2 separate regions of the Homo sapiens genome follow, and region 2 is linked to region 1. The links are contacts of gene promoters, found by promoter capture Hi-C in blood cells and fetal thymus (Javierre and others, 2016). All regions are on one chromosome and are shown on one strand. The core of a region is centred on a gene start or on the middle of the fragment in contact, and the rest is flanking DNA. Distances in the headings are between cores, read along the strand shown.

Region 1 (2,500 bases), core at 1-2,500:
TGCCCCACGTGCAGGTGTCTGACCATCCGGGAAGCAGGGTCGAGGAGCTCCCAGTTGAAGTCCAGTTGCTGAGACGCACCCTGTTTTGGTGTTGCTGGGGCAGGGGGCTGATGGTGGTGCTGAACGGGTTTTAGAGGAGGGTCAGGGTGGCAGCGGATCTGGGGCCCAGCAGCCTTGTTTCTGACCCCAGGCCTGCCACTTCCCATTTAAGTGACCGTGAGTGGCAGAGGTCAAGGCTGGACTCCGGAAACGTGGGTCTGACACTCCTGAGGCCTCCCGGATGGTCCCAGCCGAAAGGACCCAGTGTGGGTCCCTTGGGCCTGGGTTTCCCTGGCTCAGGTGCCCTCAATCCCCAGGCACCCTCAGCTCAGGGCTCCCCACGACCTGGTGGGGGCACAGACCCCGGCGCCATTTCATGGGGTTCCCAGCTCCTGGCGCCCCCGTGCTCTTCTGTGAAATGGGACAGCAAGTGCGCTGATAGGAACGGTGCCTGGGCACAGGGCTGCGCCTGGACACCCTACGCCGTCGCAAGGTGGGTGCCGAGGAACTCGAGCTTCTAACGTGCCAGGGGTCCAAGGACGCGCCAGGATTTTGAGTATTAGGAGAAAAGAAACTCCTGAAATGAAGCCACGTCGCCCCTTCCACTTTAAGGTGCCTCCTGCTGTCGGAGTTTCCAGGCGCACACGGCGCGGCTGCCACTCCCTGAGGAGGAAAGTCGGGAACCGTCCCGCGGGGCCGGTCCCGCCGCTGCTCGTCCTCCTTCTCCACGTCCCCGCCCGGGGCTCCGCCGGCCCGACCCGCGGGGAACCTCCAGCCTCTGAGGACCTCACGCCGCTCGGAGACCCGCACAGCCCGGGTCAGGGCCGGGACTCCGGGCGGACGAGGTCCCCGTGGCGCCCGCACGCTCGCCCCACCCGCTCTTTTGGGCGCCGCGGCCAGGCGGGGGCAGAGTCCGCGCGGTCCCGGGTCCGCCGCGCCCCGCCCCCCCCGCTGCTCCCCTGCCCGCCGCTGCCGTCCCCCCTCCCTCCTCCCCTCCCCCCCTTCTTCCCTTCCCTCCCCCTCCCCCCTCCCCTCCCCGCCCCTAGCCCTCCCCTCCTCCCCTCCCCCTCCCTCCTCCCCTCCCCGCCCCTAACCCTCCCTCCTCCCCTCCCCTCCCCTCCTCACCTCTCCCCTCGTGCCCTCCCCGCCCCTCCCCTCCTCCCCTTCCCGCCCCTCCCCTCCTCTCCGCGCGGGGCGGGCTCCGCGCCACGTGACTCCGCGGCCGGGCCGGGACGCGACGGGACGCGCTGGGACCGGCGTCGGGGGTCGCGGGGACCATGCAGCGGAGGTGGGTCTTCGTGCTGCTCGACGTGCTGTGCTTACTGGTCGGTAAGAGCCTTGGGGACCCGGGTGTTGGGGGGACCCTCCCGGGACGGACACGCCCCCGGCTGCGCGCAAGTTTGCAGGGGAACGCGGAGGCTGCGCGCCCTCGTCCCTCCGAGGACCCTGGAGGCGGGGACCTCGCGTGAGGACCAGACCTCCCTCCGCGCCCCGCACTGCGCGCGCCCTCCCAGGCTCGGGGGTCCCCGCGTCCCAGGCCCAGGGGGATGGGGGTCGCGAGAGGCCCGGGGAGCCGGGGCCAGCATCCCCCGCCCCGGCAGCAGGAAGTCTGTGCGGAGGGGCCGCGCGCGCGCCTCCATCCCGCCCCGCCTGGCCTGGGAGGTGAGTCACGCGGGCCCGGGAGGTGGGGGCGGCCGCGGGTTACCCCGGCAGGACGTCCGCGCCTCCGCCCCTGGGGTGGGCGCTCCCGCTGCGCGCGGAGAGGGCTGACCCTCGGTCCTGGCACCCGGTGCGTCGGCGGGATTCGAACCCGTGCACGTGCGGGGAGGCCCAGCCGCCCTGCTGGCTCGGGCGGGGGAGACACTGGGGATGAAGGCTGGGTCCCAGGCTTCGGGTGAACGGGGTGGCGGGGGGCCGGGAGGCCAGGAGAACCAAACCTGTCCGGCGGGTTTGCGGGCCACACTGGCGGAATGGGCATCCCGAGGCCCCCCTCCCGCAGGGTCCCGGGAACAAAGGCCGAGTGTTTGCTCTGTGGCTGCACAGACAATGGCCCTGGAATTCTATCTCTGGGGGGTGCCCTCCTCCCCAACGTGTTTCCTGCTTCTCTGCCATCTCACAGCAGAGGCCAAGTCCTCTTACCTCCGGAAGGAGACCCTTTTTTAGGGTGGGCCAGGTGACAGCAAGAAGTCCCTGTGGGTGTCTGCCAGCCCGTGGTACCATTTCCTGAGCACCTATGGTGTTATTTATGTAAACATTTAGGTGGCACTTTCTGTATGCCAGGAACTAAGCAACATGCAAATAACAAACATTTCCCTTACAACAGCCTGTGAGGGAGGTGCTGAGTCACCTGCCGGAGGTCACACAGCAGCGGGAGGTACAGCCGAGATGGGGTTGGCTGTTGCTGCTGTGTGCCAGGGGTGGTGGCCAGGCCGAGTGCACCTCTATGCTGGAAGCTTGAGCA
Region 2 (4,737 bases), core at 184-2,683, 220 kb before region 1:
CAAATCATCGGGCGGGGCCTTCAGAGCCACTGGGCCACCGGAGCAAGTCTGCTCCTTGTCCAGGTACCCAACACCCTGCCACCCTTATCTGAGTATGATCTTGGACACCTGTGCACCCTGAACGTGGTAGGGGGGACACTCCCCATCTCTCTTCTCCCCCCGAACTTCTCTGGGACTCTGGCGAGGGCTGCCATGGTGGGCGCTTATGCCCTGGTTATGAGGCTGAAAGGGCACCTTTGCTTGGCATCCTTCCCTGCCTGCTCTTCCCACCCCCTTCCTGGGTTCTCTTGGGCGCACCCCCTTGTAAAATCACCTGCACACACAATGCCTACCTCAGGCTCCGCTTCTGGGGACCCCCCCCCCAACAAAAGACATCAGCCCATCCATCCCCAACGCCAACAGATAGTCCCCAACCACCTTCCCTGGGCTCAGAACTGGCCCCAGCCAGGGGACACCGCGCGTAGGCACCTGCAGCCTCGCATGCTTCAGCCAAATTCCGTGGCTTTCCCGCCTCCCGTGTGCCCCACACTCGGGGTCTAAATTTGCACCTGCTGGGCCTCTTCCCTGCAACCCGCCCGCACATCGCCAGGCTCTTCCAGGAATCCCCACCTGCCCGCTGGGAGCCTGTCCCCTAAGATGGGGGCCCTGGGTGACTGCGCTGCTCTCTGTAAATATTCACGTTCTGGCTGAATGGACGGGGATAACATGAGGCTGCTAAGGAGGCGACTAGGAGGACCTGGCTCGGGGGCTGGCTCTGCGACCTCGGGCCAAGTCCTCTTGAGCTGCACGATTTTGAAAATCATGAACTGCAAGGGGAAACTCAGCACCTGCAAAAAGGCATCACAGAAGGCGAAGCCGGCCAGAAGGACTCGCGCCGCATGCAGCGCGCTGCCTAGCGCCGGACCGAAGCCCGGACCCTCCAGCCCACCTTGTCCGATCCATCCCACCCAAGAAGGCATCGCGCACTACAACTCCCAGCAAGCCCCGGGCCCCTGCGCCGGCGCTGCGGGTAGGGAGCCGCGCGCGGCATGCTGGGAGTTGAAGTCCATCGCTGCCCCACCCGCCCAAGCCGGCCCACTGCGCACCTCTGGGAGTGGTGGGCCAGGCGAAGGTGCCATAGCGCGCGGCCCAGGCGCTGCTGCTGCAGCAGGAGCTGGCCCGGGGGCTCCCCGGCGCCGCCGTTTACAGGCGAGCGCAGGCCCATGTTCTCGAAGTAGTGAGCCAGGAAGGCGATCGGCTCCTCGGGCCGCGCCTCCAGCACCTTCAGCAGGGCCGCACGTAGCATTTCCGTCACGCCGACCTGCCGCAGGAAGTCCTCCTCGCTCTCGGCCGCCCCCGCCGCCCGGGATACCGACTGGCGGCCGCTGTCCGTGAAACCGGCCGGCGGTGGTACCGCTTGCCGCCGCTTCTCCACTGCCGCCATCTTCGCTGAGGGCAGCGGGACCGGAAGCACCGCCATATTCCACTGTGCGCTAGAGCCCCCCCAAGGCGGCCATCTTGATTAAGGGCAGAGGGCACCGGTATCCCGCTGGGAGACTTTGGGAAGTGACAAGGGTACGCTACCACTTTCCTTGTGTCCTTATTGGCACTCTCTCTTCTCCTCCCTCTTTGTGTATATTGATTGGCTCTCCTGGCTTTGGCCTCGGTCCTGAATTTTGCCAGACTCCAAAATGGCTGCCTCGGAAGTGCTTCGTTTCTGGCACAAAGCCGGATTGCTTGCCATTTGGGTAGTGAGCGAGTCCTTCATTAGCATGGTCTCCTAGCAACCAGTCTCCCTGGTTAGCAGAGAAGCCTGACGGAGCATGCGCGGGGCTGGACCTGCCCAGGACTGCTGGACCCAGCCCCGCGCCCGGCCCCCAGACCCTTTTCTCATGTTCATCTCTGAGCCTTGGTGCTGGGGGTCGAGCTCAGCCTGGCCTTCCGCCTAACTCAGTCAACGTCTGAGTGCGTAGCTCACCTCGTGGGAGAAGCCCCCTCCCCAGCTCCGCTGCAGCTGCGCTGAGCCCCTATTGGCGGCCACACGGGCGAGCATCCCGCGCTGTTACCCCCTGACCGCCAGAGGGAGCTTTCTGACACCGCAGCCTCCAGAGCTGTAAACTCTGCCATGGCTCTCCAGGGCCCCCGGGCTGGCACCTCCAGGCCTTCATCGCCTGACCTCGCTTCCGGCCGCCCTCCCGGCCCTCCCAACCCTCCGCAGCCCGCAGCCACCTCAAAACACAAGCAGTCTCCTCCATAAGCCGCCTCTGGGTGTGTTTCCCCAGGCGACCTCTGTGGATCTTCCCTCACTGCTTTCGGGGACTCCTGGTTAAGCTTCTCACCGAGGAAACCACTAAGCCCTCGCGTTTCCCCGCCCCGGGCAGAGCTTGCTGGGTGCCGTCCCCGTCCCTCAGGGGCGTTGCCCCGGGCAGGGGGCAATGAGAGCTGTTTGCCGGGGGACCGTTCCACCATCCTCCCAGCACAGGAATCTCTGGCGGGCAGACCAAATGCCCTTTGTAAAACGTGAAGTAGAGGTTCCTCTTCAAATGAGACTTTCCTCCCCATCTAATTAGGAATAAATAGTAACTTCTCTTAGAAGCAAAATGTATTCAAAGGCCTGTGGTAGGCCGGGCGCGGTGGCTCACGCCTGTCATCCCAGCACTTTGGGAGGCCGAGGCGGGCGGATCACGAGGTCAGGAGATCGAGACCATCCCGGCTAACACGGTGAAACCCCGTCTCTACTAAAAATACAAAAAATTAGCCAGGCGTGGTGGCGGGCGCCTGTAGTCCCAGCTACTCGGGAGGCTGAGGCAGGAGAATGGCGTGAACCCGGGAGGCGGAGCTTGCAAGTGAGCCGAGATCGCGCCACTGCACTCCAGCCTGGGCGACAGAGCGAGACTCTGTCTCAAAAAACAAACAAACAAAAGACCTGTGCTAACATTCTTTGTTAATTAATTGTTAATGTTATATTGAATATATATAATGTAATAAGGAAATCAACATACTTTATGTTCTTAGTGCCCACAATGTAGGCTAAATATCTGCCCTGGCATGCTTATACTGGTCCAAGCAAGCATTAGGTCATAACCTGTTCCTCTTCCTTATTTGAAGGTGTTTTTACCTTTCTTAGCATTCCACAAGCTACTTCTTCCTTCCTTTGTTCTCCTCTGCCTTTGCCTCTTTTTAAAAGTTCCAAGCTGCTAGCCGATCGGGATAAATACAGAATGTGAGGTCCCGTTCCAGCCAATGGAAACCGTCCCGTTCCAGCCAATGGAAACCGGACAGAGCAGTAGGGTGGACGCGTCAGGTTATAAATGACCCTGTCTCCTTTGTTCTGGATACTCTCGTGGCAAAACTGCTGGCCAGTGTACCCTTTCTGCAGAAAGTAAAACAGTGGCCTTGCTGAGGAAATGACATTTATATTCAAGTGCTATTTCTTTACGGCACCGGGGAACAAGCATTTCTAACACTTTCTTCTCCAGCCCCGGACTGTGGGATGAGGGAGATGGAGCCATCAGGGCAGGACCCACAGTCAACCCTCTGCTGTCCGGAGCCCTCAGACCTCTCCTCTCCACGGAGTGGGTGTCAACTGAGAAAACTGACACGTTTGTATCATTTTAGGAGGTTTATTTGCCAAAGCCTCAGGAGGTCCTGACGACAGGGGCCCAGGGTGGTCAGGGCACAGCTTGGTCTTACGCATTTTTAGGGAGACGTGAGACATGAATCAATGTATGTAAAAAGTACGTGGTTCCGTCCAGAAAGGTGGGGACCACTCAGGGAGGGGCTTCAGGTCATGGGTAGGTGAGACAAACAGTGGCCTTCTTTTGAGTTTCTGATGAGCTTCTCCAAAGAGGCAATCAGAACATGCATCCATCTCTGTGAACAGAGGGATGACTTTGAGTAGAATGGGAGGCAGGTTTGCCCTGACCAGTTCTCAACTTGAAGGGGTCCAAGCTATTTTGCTTTCACAGGGGGAAAGGCTGGCCACTCAGGAGGGGCTGATCCCGACCTGGCCGGTCCCCCTTAACCCAGCCCAGGCCGACACCTGGGGCAGAAGCCTCAGAGAAGCTGGTGGGTGGGTGTCGTCCTCAGCCAGGTGCCGGCAGCGTTTCCAGAGGTGATAGGTGGGCAAGGCCAGGAGCAGCAGTCCCAGCACCGCACTGCTGGTCCACAGAGCCGCGGGCAGCTGGTCACCCGCAGGTTTGGACGCTGGGGAGAGAGTGCAGGAGACCCCGGTCAGAGCCCTCCAGGCCTCTGCAGGCTTGGGAAGGGAGGAGCCCCTCAGAGGCTACACGTGCTTCCAAAGTTACCACGTTCCCTGAAATTTCACAAAGGACTTTACCATGACCCTTTTGAAATGCGCATAGCACCTTAGAGTTTAGAAATGGGCAGTCCAGGCCAGGCGGGGTGGCTCACGCCTGAAATCCCAGCACTTCGGGAGGCCAAAGCGGGTGGATCACGAGGTCAGGAGTTCGAGACCAGCCTGACCATGGTGAAACCCTGTGCCTACTAAAAATACAAAGTTAGCTGGACATGGTGGCAGGCGCCTGTAATCCCAGCTACTTGGGAGGCTGAGGCAGGAGAATCACTTGAACCCGGGAGGTGGAGGTTGCAGTAAGCTGAGATCGCACCACTGCACTCCAGCCTGGGTGACAGAATGAGACTCTGTCTCTCAAAAAAAAAAAAAAAAAAAAAAAAGGGCAGACCGGAGAGAGGACGGCTCACCACCATGAAGGGTGCTGAGCCTACAATCTGCACTTT

The links. Contacts are between HindIII fragments. The CHiCAGO score rates a contact against its expected background, and 5 or more counts as called.
Region 2: a contact is called between the fragment with the promoter of TPGS1 here and the fragment with the promoter of PLPP2 in region 1, in 1 of 17 cell types (M1 macrophages). The highest score is 6.6, in M1 macrophages.

Annotation. Positions count from the first base shown.
Region 1 is chr19:290,153-292,652 of GRCh38, reverse strand. PLPP2 (phospholipid phosphatase 2) reads left to right here and starts at 1,250. Exons shown (of 6, transcript NM_003712.4): 1 at 1,250-1,368. The coding sequence starts at 1,317. RefSeq lists enhancers at 1,356-2,053, 2,084-2,500, 2,054-2,500. The HindIII fragment of the contact is 12,026 bases long and covers 1-2,494 here.
Region 2 is chr19:504,193-508,929 of GRCh38, reverse strand. It overlaps TPGS1 (tubulin polyglutamylase complex subunit 1), which reads right to left and starts at 1,433. Exons shown (of 2, transcript NM_033513.3): 1 at 1,086-1,433. The coding sequence starts at 1,423. MADCAM1-AS1 (MADCAM1 antisense RNA 1) reads left to right here and starts at 1,041. Exons shown (of 3, transcript XR_936221.4): 1 at 1,041-1,554. It overlaps MADCAM1 (mucosal vascular addressin cell adhesion molecule 1), which reads right to left. Exons shown (of 5, transcript NM_130760.3): 5 at 3,587-4,185. The coding sequence ends at 3,965. RefSeq lists enhancers at 1,288-1,627, 1,500-2,357 and a silencer at 2,158-2,287. The HindIII fragment of the contact is 8,539 bases long and covers 1-2,312 here.